5 separate regions of the Homo sapiens genome follow, and regions 1, 2, 3 and 5 are each linked to region 4. Evidence: promoter capture Hi-C in 16 types of primary human blood cells and fetal thymus (Javierre and others, 2016). All regions are on one chromosome and are shown on one strand. Each heading gives the region's core, a stretch centred on a gene start or on the middle of the fragment in contact. The rest is flanking DNA. Distances are from core to core; before and after follow the strand shown. Region 1 has its middle 7.2 kb from the start of TPRG1-AS1. Region 2 has its middle 100 kb from the start of TPRG1-AS1. Region 3 has its middle 33 kb from the start of TPRG1. Region 4 holds the start of RTP4 (receptor transporter protein 4). Region 5 overlaps TPRG1 (tumor protein p63 regulated 1).

The links. The method cuts DNA at HindIII sites, captures the fragments that hold promoters and counts their contacts. A CHiCAGO score of 5 or more calls a contact.
Region 1: a fragment that was not itself captured here is called in contact with the fragment with the promoter of RTP4 in region 4 in 5 of 17 cell types (activated CD4 T cells, total CD4 T cells, naive CD4 T cells and 2 more); the score reaches 8.9 in activated CD4 T cells.
Region 2: a contact is called between a fragment that was not itself captured here and the fragment with the promoter of RTP4 in region 4, in 1 of 17 cell types (neutrophils). The highest score is 7.8, in neutrophils.
Region 3: a contact is called between a fragment that was not itself captured here and the fragment with the promoter of RTP4 in region 4, in 1 of 17 cell types (activated CD4 T cells). The highest score is 5.6, in activated CD4 T cells.
Region 5: a fragment that was not itself captured here is called in contact with the fragment with the promoter of RTP4 in region 4 in 1 of 17 cell types (neutrophils); the score reaches 5.2 in neutrophils.

Annotation. Positions count from the first base shown.
Region 1 is chr3:188,952,597-188,957,175 of GRCh38, forward strand. No RefSeq gene overlaps it. Among named protein-coding and RNA genes, the nearest start is that of TPRG1-AS1, 7.2 kb to the left of the region's middle. RefSeq lists a silencer at 1,944-2,238 and an enhancer at 4,554-4,579. The HindIII fragment of the contact is 3,306 bases long and covers 1,317-4,579 here.
Region 2 is chr3:189,048,544-189,053,483 of GRCh38, forward strand. It overlaps a transcript of TPRG1 not described here. Among named protein-coding and RNA genes, the nearest start is that of TPRG1-AS1, 100 kb to the left of the region's middle. The HindIII fragment of the contact is 7,093 bases long and covers 1-4,940 here.
Region 3 is chr3:189,136,882-189,141,723 of GRCh38, forward strand. It overlaps a transcript of TPRG1 not described here. Among named protein-coding and RNA genes, the nearest start is that of TPRG1, 33 kb to the right of the region's middle. RefSeq lists an enhancer at 427-928. The HindIII fragment of the contact is 501 bases long and covers 2,911-3,411 here.
Region 4 is chr3:187,367,029-187,372,045 of GRCh38, forward strand. It overlaps RTP4 (receptor transporter protein 4), which reads left to right and starts at 1,357. Exons shown (of 2, transcript NM_022147.3): 1 at 1,357-1,568; 2 at 3,760-5,017. The coding sequence starts at 1,414. The coding sequence ends at 4,345. RefSeq lists an enhancer at 1,218-1,567. The HindIII fragment of the contact is 4,178 bases long and covers 1-3,441 here.
Region 5 is chr3:189,214,079-189,219,188 of GRCh38, forward strand. TPRG1 (tumor protein p63 regulated 1) reads left to right here. Exons shown (of 6, transcript NM_198485.4): 3 at 1,214-1,305. Among named protein-coding and RNA genes, the nearest start is that of TPRG1-AS2, 24 kb to the right of the region's middle. The HindIII fragment of the contact is 2,060 bases long and covers 1,037-3,096 here.

The DNA.
Region 1 (4,579 bases), core at 1,720-4,219, 1.6 Mb after region 4:
GAGCCTTTATTATAATGGTGTTATAAAGATAGCATCTGTTAAGTTGCTTTATATAAAGTTTCAGATGGAAAATTCATCAGTGAACTTATATAGTAAAAAAAAAATCATTAAAAATTTGGGTGGATCTACTTAGGTTTAAGTATAACTGCATTTGTGCTCCTGTTTTATAGTTGGGTTTAAAAATACTTGTGATTTTTATTATAAGCTTCCTCATATATCTTTTCAAGTAGGTTTATGTAAATAAGTAAGTAAGTAAATAAATAAATAAAGGTTCACTTGGACCCAAGTTAGTGCACGAAATGAAGAAATAAATCCACTTACGAATGGTGAACTGACTGAAGCCCTCCTAAGATGTTAGTTCAGGCAAAAGATCCAAATTTCAGAGCATCACAAGAGACAGCAGATTCCACTGAAACTATTACCTTACTGCTCCTATATATGAGGTGAAGTTTTGTGTGAGAAGGATCAAAGAGATTGTGATCATCTCTAAGCAGTGCAAAAATCTAGTGATGAGCAGGAGGAGAAAATCTAAATAGTTCTGGTAGAGATATAGGGATTAGTAAGTGAGGAGGTTATATGCTGGAGGTTACATTTAGCCTATAAAAACACCATAATCCAGGTTTATTCTACCAATTACTGTGTGGCCTTGAGATCTACATTTTAGCATTTACTAAATGATAGGGAAGAGCAGTTGAGCTCTTAAGCTTCTTCTAGTGCTCGCTTTCTATTTGCCCCAAAGTCAGTCTACACTGAGTGACTGATCAAACTCCACTTCCACCTTGGATTCCATAAACCAGCTAAGAAATAGATACTCTCTTCCTCACCCTTAGCCCCACACCACACCCCCACTGCTCATGACTGGAGGGCATATGTCGATTGGAGGGAAGGATGCGACTGGAAGTCTCTGAGAAGAGCTCTTCTCTTCCCTCAGGGACATGTCTATTCACTGAAGAATGACATAATAAATGGTCAGCTACCTTTAACCTGCCTTCCATGGATTCCCTGAGGAAAAATTAAATTACTGTTCTAATATGCTACAAACGCACAGACTCAAAATGTAAAATATGAAATGAATCTGACAGGTTATGTGGTTTAGCTCCCACACTTGATGGACAGAGAAACTGAGGCTTGAAGAGACGCACCCAAGGAACCTGGCCAAAGACACAGAGACAAGAAGTCTTGGAGCTAGGGCTACAGCCCAGATCTCCACTGCTCCTTGGTGCTCTTTGTTTTTTTTTTTTTTTTTTTTGCTACAAGTTGGAGCTCAGTCCCTGGGTTGCAATGGATAAATCTTTTGCTAGGCAACCCAGTTGCTAAGCTTTGCTCACATCATTCTTGAGCTCAAAAACCTTTATGGATTTCAGCTATTCATTCCTAGTATAGTCATCCTTTGGTATCCTTGAGGGATTGGTTCCAGAATCTTCTGAGGATACCAAAATCCAGGGATGCTCAAGTATCTCATATAAAATGGTGTAGTATTTGCATATAACCTACGCACATCCTCCTATATGCTTTAAATCATTGCTAGATTACTCATAATAATACAGTGTAAATGCTATGTCAATCGTTGTTATACTGTACTATTTAGGGAAGAATGACAAGAAAATCTCTACATGTTCAGTACAAATGCAACCTTCCATTTATTTTTCCAAATATTTTTCATCGACACTTGGTTGAATTCATGGATGTGGAACCTATGGATACAAAGGGCCAATTGTACAAGATTCATTTTGTGTCATTATTTGGGCTCTGCCCATGATATTGCTACTACTTTTTAAAAAAATTTATGAATTCCCTTCTGGAAGACGAGGTAGAAAGTAGACAGGCGATTTTGCTAAGCAGTTTTGACATCTCTCACACACACCTATTTTGGCTAACCTTTTCCTGATTTCTCAGTCCTCAGTAGCTCCTCTGTGCACGTGCCCAGATGTCACATTTCTTAACTTATTTTCTATTTCTTGAGGATAATTTAGTCACTTTTTTCTCTACAGTAAGCAGAGAAGGTAGAGCTGGAAAATGGGGTCTTCATCAGAGTTTAACTAGACTATGAATAGAATTCTGTAAGGCACGGACCAATGAGCTGTCTTTTAGGTCAGTCCAGAAGGACTCAGATTCACACCAAACTTAAGTGGCTGGTGAATGAGGCTCAGATTGTCCTCCCAGTTTCCCACTGCCATCCCCAATCCTGCTCCAAGAGCGCCCTCTGCTGGAATGGAGCAGGAGCCAACATCCTCAGCCATCTTGGAAGTGGGGCCAACTGGAACTCTGAAAGGATGAAAAGTACCTCTGTTTAAATACAAGCTCCAAATAAGACAGATCAAGTCTACAATGTCTTCTTGACTTTTATTTCTCATTCCTTCTATTTCCATTTCTTTGACAACTTTTCTTAAGAGGATCACGATGTGGTGAAAAAATAGAATTTAAAGAGGGGAAATGTAATCCAGTGAAATGGGCATAAAACTAAGAATTCTGCCTTCTTTGAGAGGTTTAATTGCTGGGTTACAAAGAGTAATTTCTTGGAATAACTCAGTTTCTAGTCTCAGATTGTAATTACTCCTTCAGTTAGAAACCTTCTTCCATTCATTGCCTGCTAAATTAAGTCAACATTCTTTACTTAGCTTTCAAGGTATATTTGTATATGAATTTACAAATTCATAATATGTTATTTAGTTTGTACTTCATTTATCAAAGCTAATAGTATCTTTACTTTAAAAAAATTTTACTCTGATCTACTTTTTAGAAATTGAAAAGATATTGAAAACTTTAAAAGTACATTTGAATACCAAAGTCATATGTTTCACATTAAAAATCATGCTCAGCACTTAATCTGCTTATAATTTTGAACAAGTGGAAGACCCTGATTAAATAATTAGCTTTTGAACAGAAACAATAATTGATAGGTTGAATTCTATCTTTAGCACTGATGTTAGTCCTAACTTGTTGTTTAGGATTGAGACAAGGTAAAGCGACATAAAAGATTTGGGGGAGTTGATATAACCTTTAAAGTGTCATTTAGTCAAAGGAAGAAACAGTAGCTAGGAATATACCTATTGAATAAACATAGCAATATGGTAGATTCTAGTCCTAGACCCCTGTTTTACAGCTAGAATTATGCCAAAAAGTTGAAAAGTAAAGCTGGATGAAACCTTAGAGAAGACTCCGCCATCTTATAACTCAGATGGTGAAATGAGACCCAGAAAGAATAGTCTTCCCAAAGGCTCACGGTCAGTTATTATAGGAGCCTCATTTGGAATTTGAGTCATCCAATTCTCAATCCACTGTTCTTACCACTACCCAACACTACCTTTGTTTAACTGTCTTTCTTGCATAAAAAGGGACTTATAGGTGAGAGATTCTATAGTGCCATTGGGAGCTGCTGCCTGAATCTCCGTGTAATTTCAAAGAGTTTCCTAACTCAGACCCTGTCCCATTTCACTGTATCCTTAAGAGGCTGAGAAACGGGGCATTCAGATTCTTTCCCCATGCTGACTCTTCATTCTGTTTACACATGGGCCGGCCAGATGCTAGAGAAAAAAAAACAAACATTTGCAGCTGTTATCAGGGGTAGGATAGAGCACATGAGGTTCCCAAGTTTTGATCCAACACATCAGAACACACTTGATTTTTACTCTGGCTTGGAGTTTACTGCCTTCAGCTTCTTCTACAAAGCCTGAATGTTGCCATTTCATGTCAAAACCTGCACTGAGAGATGCCGATGGCTTCTTGAGCTAACTTCAGCCCATCACCGCAGTGGTCTAGATGACCAAGGAAGTGACTGCTTCATTACAGCTTGAGGGGACCCTCTTTCTTCATCCCCCACTTTCACTTTTTTTTTTTTTTTAAATGAAAAGGCCGATGGTTCTCCCAAGTAGCCAGAGGCCAGCAGGAGCACTAAGTAAGAGACAGCAAGAAGTGTTCTTAGTGAGAACAATGTGGACTTTGGAGTTATGTAAAACCCAATTTTAATCCTGGCCCAGCCATTGACTGGCAGTTTGATTTTGAGTTATTTAAGTTGGAACCTTATTTTTCTTGCTTATTTATTGAACTATTAATTGAAAAAGTGATTCTAGTCCTAGACCCCTATTTGACAGCTAGAGAAATGAGACATGAACTGATACATGCTCAGATAAATACATTTCTTACTCAGAGGATAATAGTCAATGATTAATAGTTTCCACTGAGACATCACAAATAAGAAATAGATTGAAATTACATTTGAAGGATCTAGGTTAGATATCAAAAACTTCCTTGGAAGGGAGCATCATGAAACCTCTATTTCTTAGAAATCTTTAAGAATATAATAGTCACACATGTTGAATGAGTTTAAATGAAGCATTACTTACCAGGATAGACGACCTCTCTAGTTTTTCCCCAGTTAAAAAATCCAAGACTTGGGTTCCTTCTTTCAAGAGGAGTAATGTAAAAAGTCTGACCCCTAGTGGTCATCGTCTCTGCATTGGACCTAAGGGAAAAAGGCCAAAAAGAATGATAACAACCAGACTTTGTTTTGGAATTAAAAACGAACCTTAGAAATGTGAGAGTCAAATTGTCTAATTCTAAAACAAGGGAACTTAGACCA
Region 2 (4,940 bases), core at 746-3,245, 1.7 Mb after region 4:
GTTCCTCTTAGAAAGTCCTAGTTGGCATCTTTTTCCAATAGAAGGCTGTTTTTTTTCTACCTTGGAAATCTGGGCTACATGAGTTGGATCATGGTGGATGGGACTCAAGACTAGATTCAGCTCCAGACAGAGCAGCATGAGGAGGCTTGCACTGTGAATTTTACCTCCAGATCGACTGCAAGAACAAACCAGCAATCTCAAGAGGACCCACAGACCCTCTGAAGGAAGCGAATGCTCCTGCAGGACCTGGGAGACACTCCAAATACTGTGAGTGCCCCAACTGCAGAAGAGCGAAAGGGAGACCCTCCCGTCCGCAACACACACCCCCACTGGAGAAGCTGAAGATCTGTTTGCAGGAGAAGTTTCCAACTTCACCTGGAGCTGAGTCAAGTTAGAGAGCTGAGCGAAATACAGGGGTAGAGGAGCAGCAGAAAGGCCTTGAGAGCTCGCTTGGTCCCCAGGCAACCCATTCCTGCATGGCACCACAGCGATCCACTGGGAGGGTAGCCAGAGGAGCAGGGAGTAAAACTCCACAGGGAGAAGGAATTCTCTAGCTGAACTTTGTAATAATTTGAACAGGGTGAAAAGCCTCCCGGCCACAACTAGGGGAAGGGTGGGAATAGGTTGGGCAGACTTCACAGGCACAGGCACGGAAGAACTAAAGCCCTTTTCTCTTGCAGCTGGGAGGCAGATAGCCTCAGGCAAGTTTTCAAGCCCCTCTCGCCCTCCACCTGGAAACAGGCTTGGGGCTGTGGGTAGTGGGGGCATAGTGGGAGTGAGACTGGCTCTTCAGTTTGCAATGGGAGCTGGGTGAGGCCTCTGACTGCTTGCTTTCCCCCACTTTCCTGACGACCTTCATGACTCAGCAGAGGCAGCCATAGTCCTCCTAGGTACACAACTCCAGTGACCTGGGAATCTCACCCCCATACCCCACAGCAGCCACAGCAAGACTGGTCCGAGGAGAGTCTGACCTCAGACACACCTAGCCCTGCCCCCACCTGACGGTCCTTCCCTATCCACACAGGTAGCTGAAGACAAAGGGCATATAATCTTGGGAGTTCTAGGGCCCTGCCCACCACCAGTTCCTCTCCACACTACTACAGCTGATGCTTTCTGGAAAGCGCCACCTCCTGGCCCAAGGCTAACCAGCACAAAAATAGAGCATTAAACCACCAAAGCTAAGGACCTTTAGGGAGTCCACTGCACCTTCTGCCACCTCCACCAGAAAAGGTGCTGGTATCCATGACTGAGAGACCCATAAACGGTTCACATCACAGGACACTGTGCAGACAACCCCCAGTACCAGCCAGGATGGAAATTTAAAAAATCTTTGAACTGAATGACAATAATGACACAACCTATCAAAACCTCTGGGATACAGCAAATTTGGTGCTAAAAGGAAAGTTCGTAGCCCTAAACACCTACATCAAAAAGCCTAAAAGAGCACAAACAGACAATCTAAGGTCACGCCTCAAGGAACTAGATCAACAAGAACTGACTAAGCCCAAACTCAGCAGAAGAAAGGAAATAACCAAGGTCAGAGAAGAACTAAATGAAACTGAAACAAACAAACAAAAAACACAAAAGATAAATGAAACAAAAAGCTGGTTCTTTGAAAAGAGAAATAAAATTGATAGACCATTGGCAAGATTAACCGAGAAAAGAAGAGAGAAAATCCAAATAACCTCACTAAGAAACAAAACAGGAGATATTATAGCTGACACCACTGAAATACAAAAGATCATTCAAGGCTACTATGAACAACTTTATGCACATAAACTAGAAAACCTAGAAGAGATGGATAAATTTCTGGGAAAATACAACCTTCCTAGCTTAAATCAGGAAGAATTAGATAACCTGAACAGACCGATAACAAGCAGCAGGTTTGAAATGGTAATTTAAAAATTACCAACAAAAAAAATTCAGGACCAGACAGATTCAGAGCAGAATTCTATCAGACATTCACAGAATTGGTACCAATCCTTTTGACACTATTCCACAAGATAGAGAAAGAAGGAACCCTCCCTAATGCATTCTATGAAGCCAGCCTCACCCTAATACCAAAACCAGGAAAGGACATAACCAAGAAAGAAAACTACAGACCAATATCCTTAATGAACATAGATGCTAAAACCCTTAACAAAATACTAGCTAACCGAATCCAACAGCATATCAAAAAGGTAATCCACCATTATCAAGTAGGTTACATAACAGGGATGCAGGGATGGTTTAACGTACACAAGTCAATAAATGTGAAACACCACATAAGCAGAATTGAAAACAAAAATCACATGATCCTCTCAATAGATGCAGAAAAAAGCATTCAACAAAATCCAGCATTCCTTTATGATTGAAACTCTCAGCAAAATCGGCATGCAAGGGACATACCTTAATGTAATAAAAGCCATCTATGACAAACCCACAGCCAACATAATATTGAATGGGGAAAAGTTGAAAGCATTCCCTCTGAGAACTGGAACAAGAAAAGGATGCCCACTCTCACCACTCCTTTTCAACATAGTACTGGAAGTCCTAGCCAGAGCAATCAGACAAGAGAAAGAAATAAAGGGCATCCAAATCGGTAAAGAGGAAGTCAAAATGTCACTGTTTGCTGACGATATTTATCATTTACCTTGAAAACCCTAAGGACTTCTCTAGAGAGCTCCCAGAACTGATAAAATAATTCAGCAAAGTTTCCAGATACAAGATTAATGTACACAAATCAGTAGCTCTTCTATACACCAACAGCGACCAAGCAGAGAATCAAATCAAGAACTCAGCCCCTTTTACAAGCTGCAAAACAAATAAACAAACAAAAAACCACCTTAGGAATATACATAACAAAGGAGTTGAAAGACTTCTGCAAGGAAAACTACGAAACACTGCTGAAAGAAATCATAGATGACACAAACAAATGGAAACACATTCCATTCTCATGGATGGGTAGAATCAATATTGTGAAAATGACCATACTGCCAAAAGCAATCTACAAATTCAAGCAATCCTCATCAGAATACCAGGATCTTTCTTCACAGAATTAGAAAAAAAAATTCTAAAATTTATATGGAACCAAAAAAGAGCTCACATAGCCAAAGCAAGACTAAGCAAAAAGAGCAAATCTGGAGACACCACACTACCTGATTTCAAACTATACTATAAGACCATAGTCACCAAAACAGCATGGTACTAGTATAAAAATAGGCACATAGACCAATGGAACAGAATAGAGAACCCAGAAATAAACCCAATTACTTCCAGCCAACTGATCTTCAACAAAGCAAACAAAAACATAAAGTGGGGAAAGGACACCCTTTTCAACAAATGGTGCTGGAGTGATTGGCTAGCCACATGTAGGAGAATGAAACTGGATCCTCATCTCTCACCTTGTACAAAAATCAACTCCAGATATATTAAGGACTTAAACCTAATACCTGAAACTATAAAAATTCTAGAAGATAACATTGGAAAAACTCTTCTAGACATTGCTTTAGGCAAGGATTTCATGACCAAGAACCCAAAAGCAAATGCAATAAAAACAAAAATAAATAGCTGGGACCTAATTAAACTAAAGAGCTTTTGCACGGCAAAAGGAACAGTCAGCAGAGTAAACAGACAACCCACAGAGTGGGAGAAAATCTTTACAACCTATACATCTGCCAAAGGACTACTATCCAGAACTGCAATGAACTCAAATCAGTGAGATAAAAACAAACAATGCCATCAATAAGTGGGTTAAGGACATGAACAGACAGTTCTCAAAAGAAGATATACAAATAGCCAACAAACATATGAAAAAATGCTCAACATCACTGATGATCAGGGAAATGCAAATCAAAACTACAATGAGATACCACCTTACTCCTGCGAGAATGGCCATAATCAAGAAATCAAAAAACAGTAAACACTGGCATGGATGTGGTTAACAGGGAACACTTCTACACTGCTGGTGGGAATGTAAAGTAGCACAGCCACTATGGAAAACAGTGTGGAGATTCCTTAAATAACTGAAAGTAGAACTACCATTTGATCCAGCAATCCCACTACTGGGTATCTACCAGAGGAAAAGAAGTCATTATTCGAAAAAGATACTTTCACATGCATGTTTGTAGCAGCACAATTCACAATTGCAAAATTGTGGAACCAACCCAAATGCCCATCAATCAATGAGTGGATAAAGAAACTATTATATATATATATATGCTATGCAGCCATAAAAAGGAATGAATTAACAGCATTTGCAGTGACCTGGATGAGATTCGGGACTATTATTCTAAGCGAAGTAACTCAGGAATGGAAACCAAACATTGTATGTTATCACTGATATGTGGTAGCTAAGCTATGAGGACGCAAAGCCATAAGAATGATACAATGGACTTTGGGGACTTGGGGGGAAGAGTGAAAGAGGGGTGAGTGATAAAAGACTACAAATATGGTGCAGTGTATACTGCTTGGGTGATGGGTGCACCAGAATCTCACAAATCACCATTAAAGAACTTACTCATGTAACCAAATACCACCTGTATCCCAATAACTTACAGAAAAAAAAGAAAATCAGATGTTTAGTGTAGCCAGCTTCATCAATTATCTTAGCTAAATCTTCTGAATAACTTGTGGCTCCTATATCAGCACTTGCTGCTTCACCTTGCACTTTTAGGAAGACAGCTTTTTTCTTTAAACCTCATGAACCAACTTATACTAGCTTCCAACTTTTCTTCTGCAGCTTCCTCACCTGTCTTAGCCTTCATAGAATTGAAGATAAAAGCAGCCCAATTTTCTCATAGAACTGATGTTTATGGTTTCTTTTGAGGAAACATAGAAATTGACCCTCCCAGTCTTGAAACTTGAGGAAATTATTTTTGTCTTATCCGAGTTTCTTTCTCAGGAAACCAAACATTTGGGCTCCCGGATAGTATCAAGGAATTGAAACTTACCAGATCACT
Region 3 (4,842 bases), core at 1,911-4,410, 1.8 Mb after region 4:
CACAATCATCATTCAGTCACTCAATGATCTTTACTGAGGGCTACAACATACCAGGTGCTAGGATAGGTGTATGGAGACAATTTTTAAAAAAATGGACATGACCCCTGTCCTTATGGAATTTGAAAGTCTGGAAAGACAGAGTTCATATTTTTCTTATTTTAGAGACAAACTAAGGTGGAATGATTTGTCCCAGCAAGGTGGTAGAGCTAGGACTCAAACCTGGGCTTCCCATTCTGAATCCAAGACTGTGATTTTGCCACGCCTGCTTTGCAATCATTGGGAAATCCCTGTGTATCTTCCAGGAGTTAACTGAAAGAAAATAATGTCAATGAAAACATCAAAGTGGCAAATAAAGAAGCCCAAAGTATCAACATTAAGAAAGCAACAAAATAAACAGCTTCTGAAAACCCCAAAATGTGTGTGTGTGTGTGTGTGTGTGTGTGTGTGTGTGTGTGTGTGTGTGTGTGTTTGGGTGAAGTGAGCTCTCAAACCAAAACAAGTAACAGCAGCAATAGCCACTTGAAAACAGAACAAAACAAAAAAACAAAAACAACAAAAAAAGAATTTTTCCCTCAAATCTGGAATGCAGCAGGGTGTCCTTAAGTTGTACAGAGCAGTGTTTGATGTGAGCATCCAGGCCCTGCTGTGAACAGAGCTCTACATTCCACACAGCCCTTATTGACTGGCTTTGCTGGACTCAAATGTGAGCAGGCTACAGCTTTGCCTCTGGCCATTAGAAGGATAATCTTTCTTGGGGGTCCCAGTAGGGTGCCAAGTGGGAATGCAGTGAGCGGGAGAGAGAGGCAGGAGGCCTATTTTGATAGGGAAGTTCCGCATGTCTACAACACTTTATGCCTGCTTCTCTCACGTGAGCATCCTTCCCCCTTCTCGTGTCTCTGTATGTAGCCAGTATAGGCCTTGGTTGGTGGATGGGTAGAAAGAAAAATGTGATCTTCCTTTTCCTGCGCTATGATGAGATCTTCTAAAGGTGAATCAAATGGACAATTCCATTTGTCTCTGTGCCTCTCTATTTTTAAGCTGGAAGATGTAGCCTTAGGGTACCTAATTCCATAGATAATAGACAAAAATAGAAAGGAAAAAAGAGAGCTGCCTTAGACGTCCATTAAAGCCTTGAATAAGACATAGTGCCTGCCTCAAGAGGAGGGACACATATGTGTAAACCATAGTTCCATTATCACATAATAATGGGCATGTACAAGTTTTGTGAAAGCCCAGGGGAGGAAGTGACAATACTTCTGGGTGGGTGTGTTAGAGCTGGGTCCTGCAAGTAGGAGTTTACTCAATACAAAAGTGTAATTGGAGTTCAGGAGAGAAGAGACAAGGGAAAAAATGTCATGTAAGCAAAGGCTTGGAGGTGTGAAAGAGCATGGTGTTTTCAGGGAGTATTTGAGGAGACACTGGTTGTTTTTCTGGTAACAACACATTTTGTGTAATGAGATAAAGTCAATGATTGCTTGGGTTTTATGGCAGGGCTAGCTACATTAACAACCAACCAACAAATACCAGCGGATTAAGAGAGCAGACTTTCATTTCTCACCCACTTCCCAGCACAATACAGGTTGGCAAGGGAGTTATGCTCCAGGCAGTCATTCAGAGACCCAGGTTCCTTCCATCTTCTGGTTTTCTCCTCCCCTTAGTTCCTCAGGTCTTTGCCACTCAGCTGGAGGTTGGAGAAAGAGAATGAGGATCAGGCACGCATAGGAAGTTTAAAGGTGATGTCTGGAAGTTGTGTACATCACTCCTGTCCATATGTATGCCTTTGGCTAGAACTTAGCCACCCAGCCACACTCAACTGCAAGGGGTCCAGGGAATTAGAGGCTAAGGGGAGAACACATTGTTAAGCAGATCGGTGTCTATCACAGCTTTGTGTCTGGAGAACAGGAGGATGGAGAGCATGAGGGCTTTATGCATATAAGATAGAACTTGATGAAAGTGTTCTAGCTTCCCTAGGGGACAAGCATGTAATAAAGGGGTCAGGGAGGGCTCTAGGTGAAAGGTGCCCTGTGGCCACACTCCTTGGGGAAAAGAAGATGAATGATTCTATCTGAAAGGTGTTTGTACTCAGACAGAAAAAAAATCTGCTCCAGCCATGAGAAAATGGACAAAAAATCACTGTAGCTCAGCTCTTAAAATGGGAGCAAAAGAAACCCAGCCAAGTAGACAACTTACAGCCCCAACATTTAGAAAGCACCATGTGGTTTACTGTATGCTCACACACAAGGTTCTCAGCTGATCCTCACAAAGGAGGAGGACCTGGTTGAAAATTATCCCTGTTTTAGAAGTGGAAAAATGTATGCTCAGAGATGTTAAATAAGTTGCCAAGGGTTGCACAGTAAGTAAGAGATGCATCTGCCACTGAAACCCACACTGTGCTCTTTGCAGTTTCACAGACCCTCCTCTGTGTAGCGGAGATACTGACCACACTTTGGGGAGCTGACCCGGATCCAGCCCTGGACTGGGGGCCAGGATCCTAGGGAAGCTCTCCTCCATCACCCAGCCCTCTGTTTGCCTGACTTCTGGAATCAGTGAACCAGCTCCTCATCCAGAGAGCACGTACATGTTAGCTGTCAAACAGTGCGTGCCGCATCTGACAACCCTAATATCACTGTTTGTATTATCAGACAATTACCAGCCGAGCTCGTATTCATAATTTGACTAACAACTCGCGACAATGATTATTTTTCCTTTTCTGGCAAAACAAATATAGCAGCGTTTTCTTTTCAGCATCAGCGCTGATGCTCCTTGGCATTCTATCAGCTGAAGGATTTTTTTTTTTTTTTCAAAAAAAAATGTTAGTCGTACTCCCCCACATCTCGCTAACTTTACAGTCCCCCATGGCATCTGTGTGCAGTGAACTGAGCTGTTGAGACTAAATGTAATTTGCAATCAAGCTTCTGTTAACATGGAAATGTACCGGCTGGTCTGCTGCAATATGGGTTCTCATTCTGTCTAGCATATGGTTGCATTAAATCCAGTCTCCAGAATGTCTCTTGTTACCACATTGTCAATCCGTGCAGAGCAGAGAACCCTAAAAAACCACTAAAGGAACATATTTTTGGAATTGGCTCTTCTATTGGATCTTGACAAGAGCTGTCCAAAGACATACTTGGTTACTTGAAATGAACTAGCCCTGTCAGATCTATGCACACACACACAGAGACACACAATAAACTTGAAAACTGGCTTGATGCTCTGTAGTCGTAAGCATAGGAATCATGCTGGAGGACAAAGGAAAGAAGGTGAAGGACTCAGCTTCACCAGATACACTTGAGACTCCTTTATAGGTTTTCTCTTGGTATCTCAATATTTAAGGCCCAGAAAATTAGAGTTGGACAGGACATAAGCAGTCTTTGTGGCTAAAAGCGTAGGCTCCTGAAGTGGATGGACTTAAGCTTGAATCCTGACCCCAGCCCTCCCTAGCTTGGTGACTTTGGGCACATTCCGAAGCTTTGTGTGCCTCAGTTACTTCATCTGTAAAATGGAGTGGACGAAGTGTACCCTCACAACTTACAGCATTATAGGGGATTAAATCCCTACACACGGGACTTATGTCAACAAATCATTGCTATTACTTAGTATTAATTACCTCTTCCTCACCAACCCTATTCCCAAATCTGATGCTTAAATACCTCCTACAATGTTACCACTATTATTCTCCTTCTCTTGTCTTGCACCCCGCTGGTGTCCAGAAGGCCAGTCTCTTCTAAGGCAGCCCGTTCTTTTCCGTACAATTCTGTTAAATGGTTTTTTCTTATATTAAACACAAATCTTACCTGCACCTTGAGCCTTTCCTTTGGGTCATATAGAAAAGCCTAATTCGGTGGCAGTCCTTCAGGTATTTCAAGAGGGTAATCATGCACTCTGTAAGTATTCTGCAGTTTCATTTGGTACCTTTCATTTCTCCTTTGAATTATGCAGTTTTGCATCCCCTTCCTAGGCAGACACCTCCTCTCGAACTTGCCTGGGTATGTCCGCGCCAATCTTGATTTCTGCAGCCCAAGCTGAGTGCCGTGTTTGCAGCTGCTGTATCACCAGCCTGCAAACCAGGTCCTACCTGGTGATGAGTAAGGATTTGCCTGATTACTTTAACACAGCTCAAAAGTGGACCTATTTGCACACAAGTACATCAAGCTTTATAAAATAGACTCTCCTTGAAGAATTAACAAATAGCAGTTTTCAGCAAATCATACTTTAAATTCAATGCAGGAAAAAGAGCTGCATGCCTACAGGTCTCTGTATCATGTTGCAGAAAAAATCCTTTTTTCAAGGAAGTAATTTCCATCCTTATACATCTCTTCTGTAAATCTAAAGTTCTGTAAGTTGTATGGAATGTGCTTTAAGTAAGAAACACACACAGACGGTGCACTGTATCTCACCGAAGAGATAGGATGCAATATCCTCCAACATTTAAAGGGCACTTTGGGAGGTCAGGGGAAAATGGAGGGGAAGACATTCTAGCCATTCATTCATTCATTCATTCATTCATTTGTTTAAAACCTATTTGTGTGCCAGACACTGTGTTAGGCACCAGGCATGTTTCTAACAAGCTGCTCTTGCCACCAAGAAGCCGGAAGACAGGTTAAAGCCAATTAAGATATGCCAAGTGCAGGATGCTGTGGGGCCATCTCACCTAGTCTTGAGTAGCTCAAAATCCAGGGATGGGGATAGATATGAAGGAAAATAATTACATTACTATGGAATAAGTGTTATATTTAAAGACTGTACAAACTGCTCTGAGCACTTTGAGAAGAGAATTTGTTCATCAAATATTTTATTGAGCACCCAGTATTACTGGATCTACAATGAAGAGCAAAACATAGT
Region 4 (5,017 bases), core at 107-2,606:
TGTTCTGAGTTTCTTCCTTCTGGTGGGTTTATTGTCTTGCTGGCTCAAGAGTGAAGCTGCAGACCTTCCGGGTGAGTGTTAACAGCTGATAAAGGCAGAGCAGACCCAAACACTGCGCAGCAGCAAGATTCATTGCAAAAACCAAAAGAACAAATCTTCCACCACGTGGAAGGGGACCCGAGCCGGTTGTCAGTGCTGGCTGGGGCAGCCTGCTTTTATTCTCTTATCTGGCCCCACCCACATCCTGCAGATTGGTCCATTTTACAGAGAGCCAATTGGTCTGTTTTACAGAGAGCTGATTGGTCCGTTTTGACAGGGTGCTGATTGGTGCATCCACAAACCCTGAGCTAGACACAGGGTGCTGATTGGTGCATTTACAAACCTTGAGCTAGATACAGAGTGCCCATTGGTGTATTCACAATCCCTTAGCTAGACATAAAGGTTCTCCAAGTCCCCACTAGACTCAGGAGCCCAGCTGGCTTCACCCAGTGGATCCCGCCCCGGGGGCAGCAGGTGGAGCTGCCTGCCAGTCCTGCGTGTGTGCCCGCACTTCTCTGCCCTTGGGCGGTCGATGGGACCAGGCACCATGGAGCAGGGGGTGGCACTCGTCGGGGAGGCTTGGGCCATGCAGGAGCCCAGGGTGGGGAGACTCAGGCATGGCGGGCTGCAGGTCCCGAGCCCTGCCCCACAGAGAGGCAGCTAAGGCCCAGCGAGAAATCGAGCTCAGTGCCGGTGGGCCGGCACTGCTGGGGGACCTGGCGCACCCTCCGCAGCTGCTGGCCCAGGTGCTAAGCACTTCACTGCCCAGGGCTGGGGGCCTGCCGGCCGCTCCGAGTGCAGGGCCCGCCAAGCCCACGCCCACCCAGAACTCTAGCTGGCCTGCAAGCCCTGCATGCAGCCCCGGTTCCTGCCCGTGCCTCTCCCTCCACATCTCCCAGCAGGCTGAGGGAGCCGGTTCTGGCTTTGGCCTACCCAGGAAGGGGCTCCCACAGTGCAGTGGCTGGCTGAAGGGCTCCTCCAGCGCGGCCAGAGTGGGCACCGAGGCCGAGGAGGCTCCGAGAGCGAGCGAGGGCTGCGAGGGCTACCAGCATGCTGTCACCTCTCACTTTGCCTATTATAAAAAATGAGAGAGAGAAAATAAAAGCGAATTTATATGTGACCCCAGAATCTAGAACAGAGCTCTTTATCTCTCTCTCAGCAAGGCCTATTAACTAACACAGTTTTGCTGCTGTCTGTTTTCAGAACAAAGACTTGTTCTGTGTACTCAGACAGTCTAAAATGAAGGTTGAAAAAAACAGCTCATGTCCATACACAGAAACAGAAACTGAACCGAACACCGAAACTGAAACTGTTTGTCTCTTCCTGAGAAACGAGCAAACCTGAAAGCTACTCTCTCAGCTTCAGAGGGAAAAAATGGTTGTAGATTTCTGGACTTGGGAGCAGACATTTCAAGAACTAATCCAAGAGGCAAAACCCCGGGCCACATGGACGCTGAAGTTGGATGGCAACCTTCAGCTAGACTGCCTGGCTCAAGGGTGGAAGCAATACCAACAGAGAGCATTTGGCTGGTGAGTGTGGGTTTCCCAGGCAATAGCTCTTCTGAGAAGAGAGGCTCAGGCTCAGCTTAGCATGATTTATTCCTCTGAGAGCTTGTTGAAGGAGTAAATGTCACCAGGGCCTCCATCCTATTGTGGTCATAGTACTCTTTAGGGTCGACATGATAAGACGACTCCAAACCTCCATTTTGTTTAACTGCTGGAAGTTTCTTCTTTTACTAGGTTTCCCTCCGTAAATATTTCTGGAAAACCCTGGAGAAGGCTCCCTATTCCATAAATTTTCCCTTCTAGTTTCTCACCACGTCATTTGTTCCAGACTACCTCTAGAGTCTTTTGCAGTCTCCCCAGCAGTCCTGACCAGCTTCCCCCAGCTGCACCAGCTCTCCAAGCCTTGGCACTGTTCAGTACAAGCCTGGGACGGAGCCTTTTTTTTTTTTTTAAATATCTTAAGAATTGGCTAAGATCAAGCAGTTACTCTGAACATTGCTTTACTGAAGGCCTGGGGATAATAGTATAGAATGATGTTGCAAAAACTAAATCTAAAACCCAGTTCATGGAGTCACCAAGTAATACTCCTCCCTTACTCACCACTTCCCTCTTTAACCCCCAGCAAGCCTCCAGGTTGCAGGAACCAGTTTCCTTGACCATGTTAGGAGGGTGAGAATTGCTGACCTGGATAATCAAATTTATTTTTAAATGACACACAGGACCTTCGGTATAGTTTTCATCTGACCTATTACTCAGCTTGCCTGCCTGCCCCATCCTGCCTCAGGTATGGCCTACTCCATTCCTTATGGACTATTAGCTATGCCATGCATCTTCAGACTTCCACACTCTTGTTCATGGAGTTCTGCTTGTTCAGCAGACCCTCCCCTCACCCCTCCCTGCTCATCCTTCAAGGCCCACTCTAGTGCCTCCTCCTCCTAAAAGCATTCTCTGGTTCTCCTAGGCAGAGTAAGTATTCCTTCGTATACATTCCCATAAGATAATGGGATAAGATAAAATATATATGTATATGTATACATAAATGATATATAATTATATATACATATGTACTATGTATTTCAGAATAATAAATTTATAAATAATATATGTATTATTATATATTGTATCAAATACAGTATATGCTTATTTTTAGCTGCAGAATCTGTTGTTTAAATAAAGCCTCCTAAACGTCTCCAGAACAGTTCTCAAGTCACTTGTCAGAGCCCGTATAGCAGTCATGTTGCTCTGCTTTCTAATCCAGGGAAATGTGTAAATATTTCTGTCCACACCAGCCAGAGCTTTTTGAGGGACTCATGATGTCTTACAACGTTTTGGCACTCCTCCAAACAGAAAGAAGGTGTTTCTCCTGTTGGGATGATTTGATTTGATTGTCATTTCGAGATCGGAAAAGCAACCTACCAGTGTACTTTTGGAAAATATCAATCAGCTTTTGAAAAGCATTTTGTAGTTTACAAAGTGTTTTCACATACATCGTCTCTTTTGATGCTGCCAATATAACCCTTGAATTTTTTTTTTATGGATTCAAACAATGAGGGTTATAGAAGGGAAGGGCTTTGCCCAAGGTCTTCCTGATGTAAACTGGATCTTCAACCCAGGTATGAGGGATGCAGTCTGTTTCTCCAGGTGTGAGAGATTAGCTACACTACTCACCAGAGGCAACGTGTTACAGCAGGTAAATGAGTTGAATTTCAGATGGCCTGAGATTAGCAGCATGCCTCTAACATTTACCCTGTGTGTCCTTAAGCAGGTTGCGTATCCTTTTCATGATTCAGTTTCCTTATCTGGATATTGGGTTTAATAGTGCTTACTTCACAGATGAAATGGGATAAAATTATAAAGACCAATTATATTGTATGCATCAAAATAGATACTTTACCAAAGCTTTCTATGACCAAAATTAGGAATAAGTTTCTCTGGAAGATGGCAGACATGATTTTCCCTCAGAGGCATCTGGAGATGTTTTACTAGCAAAGAGGTAGACTTGGGTGTAACATATGGGTGGATACTCAGTAGGTCACAGGAAAAAGCCTTATCTGAAACATAGTCCTTCTTGTTCCTGTTTATCAATGACTGGGACAATCTAAATCACATGCATTTTTTCAAATGGAAAAGGATGTTAGTGACAGGGGCCAAGACCATTTTCCCTCAGGTTAACAACCAGATGAAGGCATAATGGGTGTCTTCCTTCTGACTGCAGGTTCCGGTGTTCCTCCTGCCAGCGAAGTTGGGCTTCCGCCCAAGTGCAGATTCTGTGCCACACGTACTGGGAGCACTGGACATCCCAGGGTCAGGTGCGTATGAGGCTCTTTGGCCAAAGGTGCCAGAAGTGCTCCTGGTCCCAATATGAGATGCCTGAGTTCTCCTCGGATAGCACCATGAGGATTCTGAGCAACCTGGTGCAGCATATACTGAAGAAATACTATGGAAATGGCACGAGGAAGTCTCCAGAAATGCCAGTAATCCTGGAAGTGTCCCTGGAAGGATCCCATGACACAGCCAATTGTGAGGCATGCACTTTGGGCATCTGTGGACAGGGCTTAAAAAGCTGCATGACAAAGCCGTCCAAATCCCTACTCCCCCACCTAAAGACTGGGAATTCCTCACCTGGAATTGGTGCTGTGTACCTCGCAAACCAAGCCAAGAACCAGTCAGCTGAGGCAAAAGAGGCTAAGGGGAGTGGGTATGAGAAATTAGGGCCCAGTCGAGACCCAGATCCACTGAACATCTGTGTCTTTATTTTGCTGCTTGTATTTATTGTAGTCAAATGCTTTACATCAGAATGATGAAAATAGGCTTGCCACTTTCTCTTATTTTAATTCCATGGTAGTCAATGAACTGGCTGCCACTTTAATATAACTGAAAATTCATTTTGAGACCAAGCAGGATCAAGTTTGTAGAATAAACACTGGTTTCCTAGCCATCCTCTGAAAACAGTATGAAACATGACCAAGTACATAATGGATTTAGTAATAAATATTGTCGAATTGCTAAAAAGTCTTCAATCATTCATTCACTAAGTCACTCAGTGATATCAATATACTTAGCTCAGAAAGTGTGGGAGGCTGAATAATGGTGTCTCCCAACATATGCATGACTTAATCCCCAGAACCTGTAAACATGTTACTTTACATGGTAGAATGGACTTTGCGGATGTAATTAAGGACCTTGAAATGGTTAGATTATTTCATATTGTCCGGGTGGATAAGAACCAGGATTTTGTAACAGGGAGGCAACAAGCTCAAAATCAGAAAAAAGAGATTTGTCAATGGAACAAGAGGTTGAAGTGCTTTGAAGTTGGAGGAAGAGGTCACAGGCAAAAAAGTACAGGCAGCCTTTAGAAACCCAAAAGGACAAAGGAACAGATTCTCCCCTGGAGTCTGCAGAAGGAACCAGCCCTGCCTGCACATGGCTTTAGCCCAGTGACACTGATTTTGGACATCTGACCTTCAGAACTG
Region 5 (5,110 bases), core at 817-3,316, 1.8 Mb after region 4:
ATTTTTCATTTTGATAGGCTTTGCCAATTATTTTCCATAAGCGAGGCAAATAAGGTTTTAAAAATTCTACATGATTATACTCATCTTCACATATCCTTGGCAAAGTGCCTGGCATAAAAGCATTCAATAAAATGCTTATTTTAGGATTATTTCATGACTCTTTACTTAACAATTTTTTCTTCTGAAAAATATTAGTCTCACTACTCAGTTATATTTGTTGAGACCAAAATTATGTGAATACAGGAAGAGAGACCCAAAAAAATACCCATGTTGTGTCATTAAAGAAAGTATTATTTTTGAGAGGACAAGTGGGACTGGAAGAGTCAGACTGCATCACAAAGAGTGGAGGTTGAGTGTAGGGAAAATTGTCATAGAATCCTAGGCAACTCCCCTCCAGAGTCATCTATTCCTGCCAGTGGGGTCACTGGAGGTGACTGACGTTGGCACAACCTTCTCTGTCGAAGTACATTTGAGCAGTGGTTCTCTTAGTACAGTCTCCACACCACCAGCAGCACCCAAGAACTTGTTAGAAATGCAAATTCTCAGGTCCCACCCTGGTCCAGCTGAATAAAAAACTCTGGGTAGAGTCCCAGAAATCTATGTTTTAACACATACTTTAGGTGATTCTGACGGGCATTGAAATTTGAGAGTCATTGAGCTAAAGAGTCTATGAACTTACTAGAACAGATGACAATCAATCTTTAAGCTAAGGTTGGGCCTATAAGTAGTAACACCTGTTTGGGGAAGGAAGCAGAAAATGAGGTGAGGAGACTGAAAGAGTGTATCTCCATGAGTCAGCTAAAATTTATTGTCAGAGCATTGGAAGAAGGCTATGTTGTTTTTTATTGACATGTGCTCTAGGAAGAGAAAAAAGGTTTAATTTAAAAATGTACAGATTCCTAAAGGCTTTGAACTTTATAATGCTTGTTTGGGAAAACTGTTCCTCTGAAAGTGGCTGTCTTCATTTATATAATTAAATCTGAGTAAGATTATAGAAGATGGGGCCTAGATCACTTTTTCTCTACCCAAGGAGAAAAGCTTACCAGAGTTCAAGAGTAAGTTTTCTGGAAGGCAGTTAGGCATACAGGCAACTGCATAAACTATATCCTTTGTGACCAGCTTTCCGGAGGAGCTGCTGGAATATACTAACTAATCATAAGCGCGAAGTGGGCTAAGTCTGCTCTAAACTAGGTATTTTCTCCTTTCCACACAGCCGGGGGCCATTGAGACTGCCATGGAAGACTTGAAAGGTCACGTAGCTGAGACTTCTGGAGAGACCATTCAAGGCTTCTGGCTCTTGACAAAGTGAGTAGTCACAGCTAAGTGAAGGGCCGTGGAAATACAGCGTTTTCCTTGACATCACTGTAGCAGAATAGGAGATGGACCTGTGGTAGAATTTCTCTGGTTGCTACATAAGATAAATGATTGAATTACCAGGTTAGTCACATTTTCCAGCATTCCGTGGCTGATGATATGACCAGATATGACTCCTATACCTGTTTTCTGGGCTGGTCCCCTCACTCAACCATCACTACGTCTACCTTAGGTCAGGCCTGTATCTCCACTCTCAAAGACTGTTATATTGGCTTCCTAATTCTCTCATTCTAATCTCTTATTTAAAAGCACTCCCCCTATAAACACATTGAACTACTAATCATCTCATTCTAGGTGTCATGGAAAGAAAGTCTGGGAAAGAATATAGATAAAATCAACATATATACTTTGAATTTGATCTTATATACAATCATGAACAGAAAAACCAGGGAAATCATGAAGATAGCTAAGTCAGGTACATTTCCAGAGTTAGGATAAAAACCAAGTCGAACATTCAAGCCCTTATTGCTTCAATAACTGCCTGCATTCCCCCCAAAGATTATCTTATCCATAAGAGCTTTGCTTGCAAATACCACCACAAAGATGGTTACCTTTCTAGCCTTCTCAGAAATTCTGTTGTTTGTGTGACCATCTCTTTACCCGCCAAGTAAATATTAGTAATACCATGGTCTTTATAATAAGTAAAATATCCCTATAATAAGAGAAAAGGCAATTTTTTTTTACTACGGAAGCCTTAATATTAAATAGATAATTTGATTAGACTACCCAGTTCAGATACTTGATTAATTCAGTAAGTTCTGTTTTCTGGCCTGGTAACTTGATCACAAAAGGGTTCAGCAGAGAAGCTCTGTGATTCCTATACCTTGAGTAAATAATCATTAATCTTTAACTGCTGGGCAGGATGTCTTGTTAGACTAAGTTTCAGGAGGGCAACACTTGAATGTTTTACCATCCAGGCCAGCAGAACAAATTTTTCAATCAATGGAAAGTAGAGCCATTATCACCTGTGAGTTCATCTGATTGCTCACCATTTTATACTATTGTTTCAAATAAATAAAAATGAACTCTTAGACACCAACTTATCTGTTAATTTTGGGTTTTTGTTTCTTCATGCATAAAATGGAGATAATAGTATGTATCTGAAGAATTCTTGAGGCCCAAATGAGATAACGTTGGTAAATTAGCAAAATGCCTAGCACATGGACCTTCAATAGCTGTTAGTGCCCCTCTTCGTTCACAAGTGATAACTATTAGTAAGAGGCTCTTTCTTTGTAGCATCTTCCTTCATTTCTATACTATCCATCTCTGTCATTTCTGGGTTACCTCTAATGAAAAGAAAACTCTGCAATTCAGGCTTTTTCCTAATTCACTTTTACCAACACGCATTTCATTTCCCACCCCCACTTCCCATCCATTGTGATATTTGACTTCTGCAAATGAATATTCTGCCTTGATTAGAATAGGTGTCAACATAGATTTTGGAGATCCCATCAGTAGCAAACACTTAACTAATCTGTTTCTACACTGCATCTCCCTTACAAGAAAGAATACACAAATGCGGTATTTCTAAATCTAGTCAAGGCTGTTGTTGAGTTCTCAGATAATAGAACTGGTAATTTCTTTAATCTTGCACATTTTAATTGGTTTTATTTATATAGAAATATGCTTTTTTTGTTTGCTTGATTATTTTTATTCAGTGATTATAAAGATGTGTAGACATAAATTGTCCAAAACTAAGTCAGACTGCATGAACTATATTGAAGCTTAGCACTACAATTCTGCCTGCTTGATTTAACATCAACTACAATGATTGGTAACACCAGTAGTTTTCAGAAAAGTATGAACAGCTGTCCCCCAAAGAGCCAAACTTTGAACCCAGCTTGAACCTAAATAGGAAGCTCAAAAGTTGGTAAAGCCTATCTAGAAACTCATTTTACATTTCTCTTTTGTTTTGTGGTACCTATTTAAATTAACTACAACAATGAGGGATGAGTCCTGCATACACATAATTTCTTACTATCATATTTGCTTGTTTGCTTGCAGACTTTCTTCCTTTGCACTTTGGAACCCATCCATCCCCTTTAAATCGTAGTTCCTTGGTGTTCTTTTTGGTCTTCTCTCTGCCAAAAGCCTTTACCTCCTCTTCCCCATTAAAACCTACTTTCAGGAAAAGTTCTGATTTCAGTCATTTCTGCCATGGTGAGAATTTGACAGTTTATTTTCTTTGCTTGTTAAAAACCTCATCGTGGGTTCCGAGATGCATTATGCAATGGAAAGCGCTGCTAGTTGTAAAGACCATGGTTCAGGCATCTGGTCCAAATAAATGAGGTTCCTAGTCTAGCCACTGTTACTTTTCAAGCAGAAAAATAAGAAAAAATAATTGTCAAAAAGAGGAGCATTCATGGAGGATTTAAATGGCCTTTCATATTTAAGCCTTTTTGTTTGTTTGTTTGAAAATTCTAGCACACCAAGGCAGGGAAAGGCAAAAACAACAACAATGAGAACACAAAAACAAAAATCCCAACTCCCCCAACAGCAACCACAAAACAAAAAAACTAAAGAAAATAAACAAACATGCAGGCCCAGAAAGGTAAGAGCTTGCAATTACTCCTGGCTTCTTGCTTCCCATTTATTTAGTTCTTATGAATTATAGGAGCTGTAATATGGACCAACTACCCTAGCCTCACCAACCACACAAGATTCTCTCTTTTTTTTTTGAGACGGAGTCTCGCTCTGTCACCCAGGCTGGAGTGCAGTGGCGCAATCTCGGCTCACTGCAAGCTCTGCCTCCCGGGGTTCACACCATTCTCCTGCCTCAGCCTCCTGAGTAGCTGGGACTACAGGCACCCGCCACCACACCCAGCTAATTTTTTGTTTTTTTTTTAGTAGAGATAGGATTTCACCCTGTTGGCCAGGGTGGCCTCTATCTCCTGACCTCGTGATCCGCCTGCCTCGGCCTCCCAAAGTGCTAGGATTACAGGCGTGAGCCATCGCGCCCGGCCGAGATTCTCTTTTATGTATAACAAAAATGACTGAGCTTCATGCATATTAACTTTTAGCTCATTCCATGGAGATGGGACACTCCTGGCTGCTTGTCTAGCAACAGGGCTGCCTGTCTAGCATGCCTGGCTTTGGAACAAGGATTCCCATTTCAGAATGATGAGAGTAAAAGCCCTTTTACTGTGTATAGCACATGTGAAATGATTTTCACATCTGTGAACTTACGTTAGCTTCACAACTTTGTTGGTTTTATGATTCCTGTTTTATAAACGAGAAATGTGGGCTGGAGAACATGAAGTGCCCAAATGAAGAACATATAAGTGACAGAGCAAGGAAAATAGACTGCACTCCTGCATTCGTCTTGAGGCTGATTGGGTTCTAATTCTTTCCAAAGATGCAGGTGTGAGTTGATTGATGAACTCAGCTCAGTCTTTAGTCATATTTGATCAACTCCTAGAAATAGTTTGATGTAGGAGGGCAAGGTGGGAATTGTCAAGAGAAGAGACTGGAGAAGAGACTAAGGGCCTTTGCATCATGTTAAAGAGCTTAGATTCTATCCCATACGTGATGGGGAGGCACTGAAGGGTTGAGAAAGTGCAATCAATTTCCATTGTATAAAGACCACTATTGGCCCTCAACCTTTCATCTAAAATTGTTGGGACTAGATGTGAATGAGAAATGAGAATTTTTCAGATTTTAGAAGAATAAAACAATGCATATGTTGTTTATTTTACTAACGTTAAGTTGGTAAAGCCATTTTCCAAGGAGTAGTACT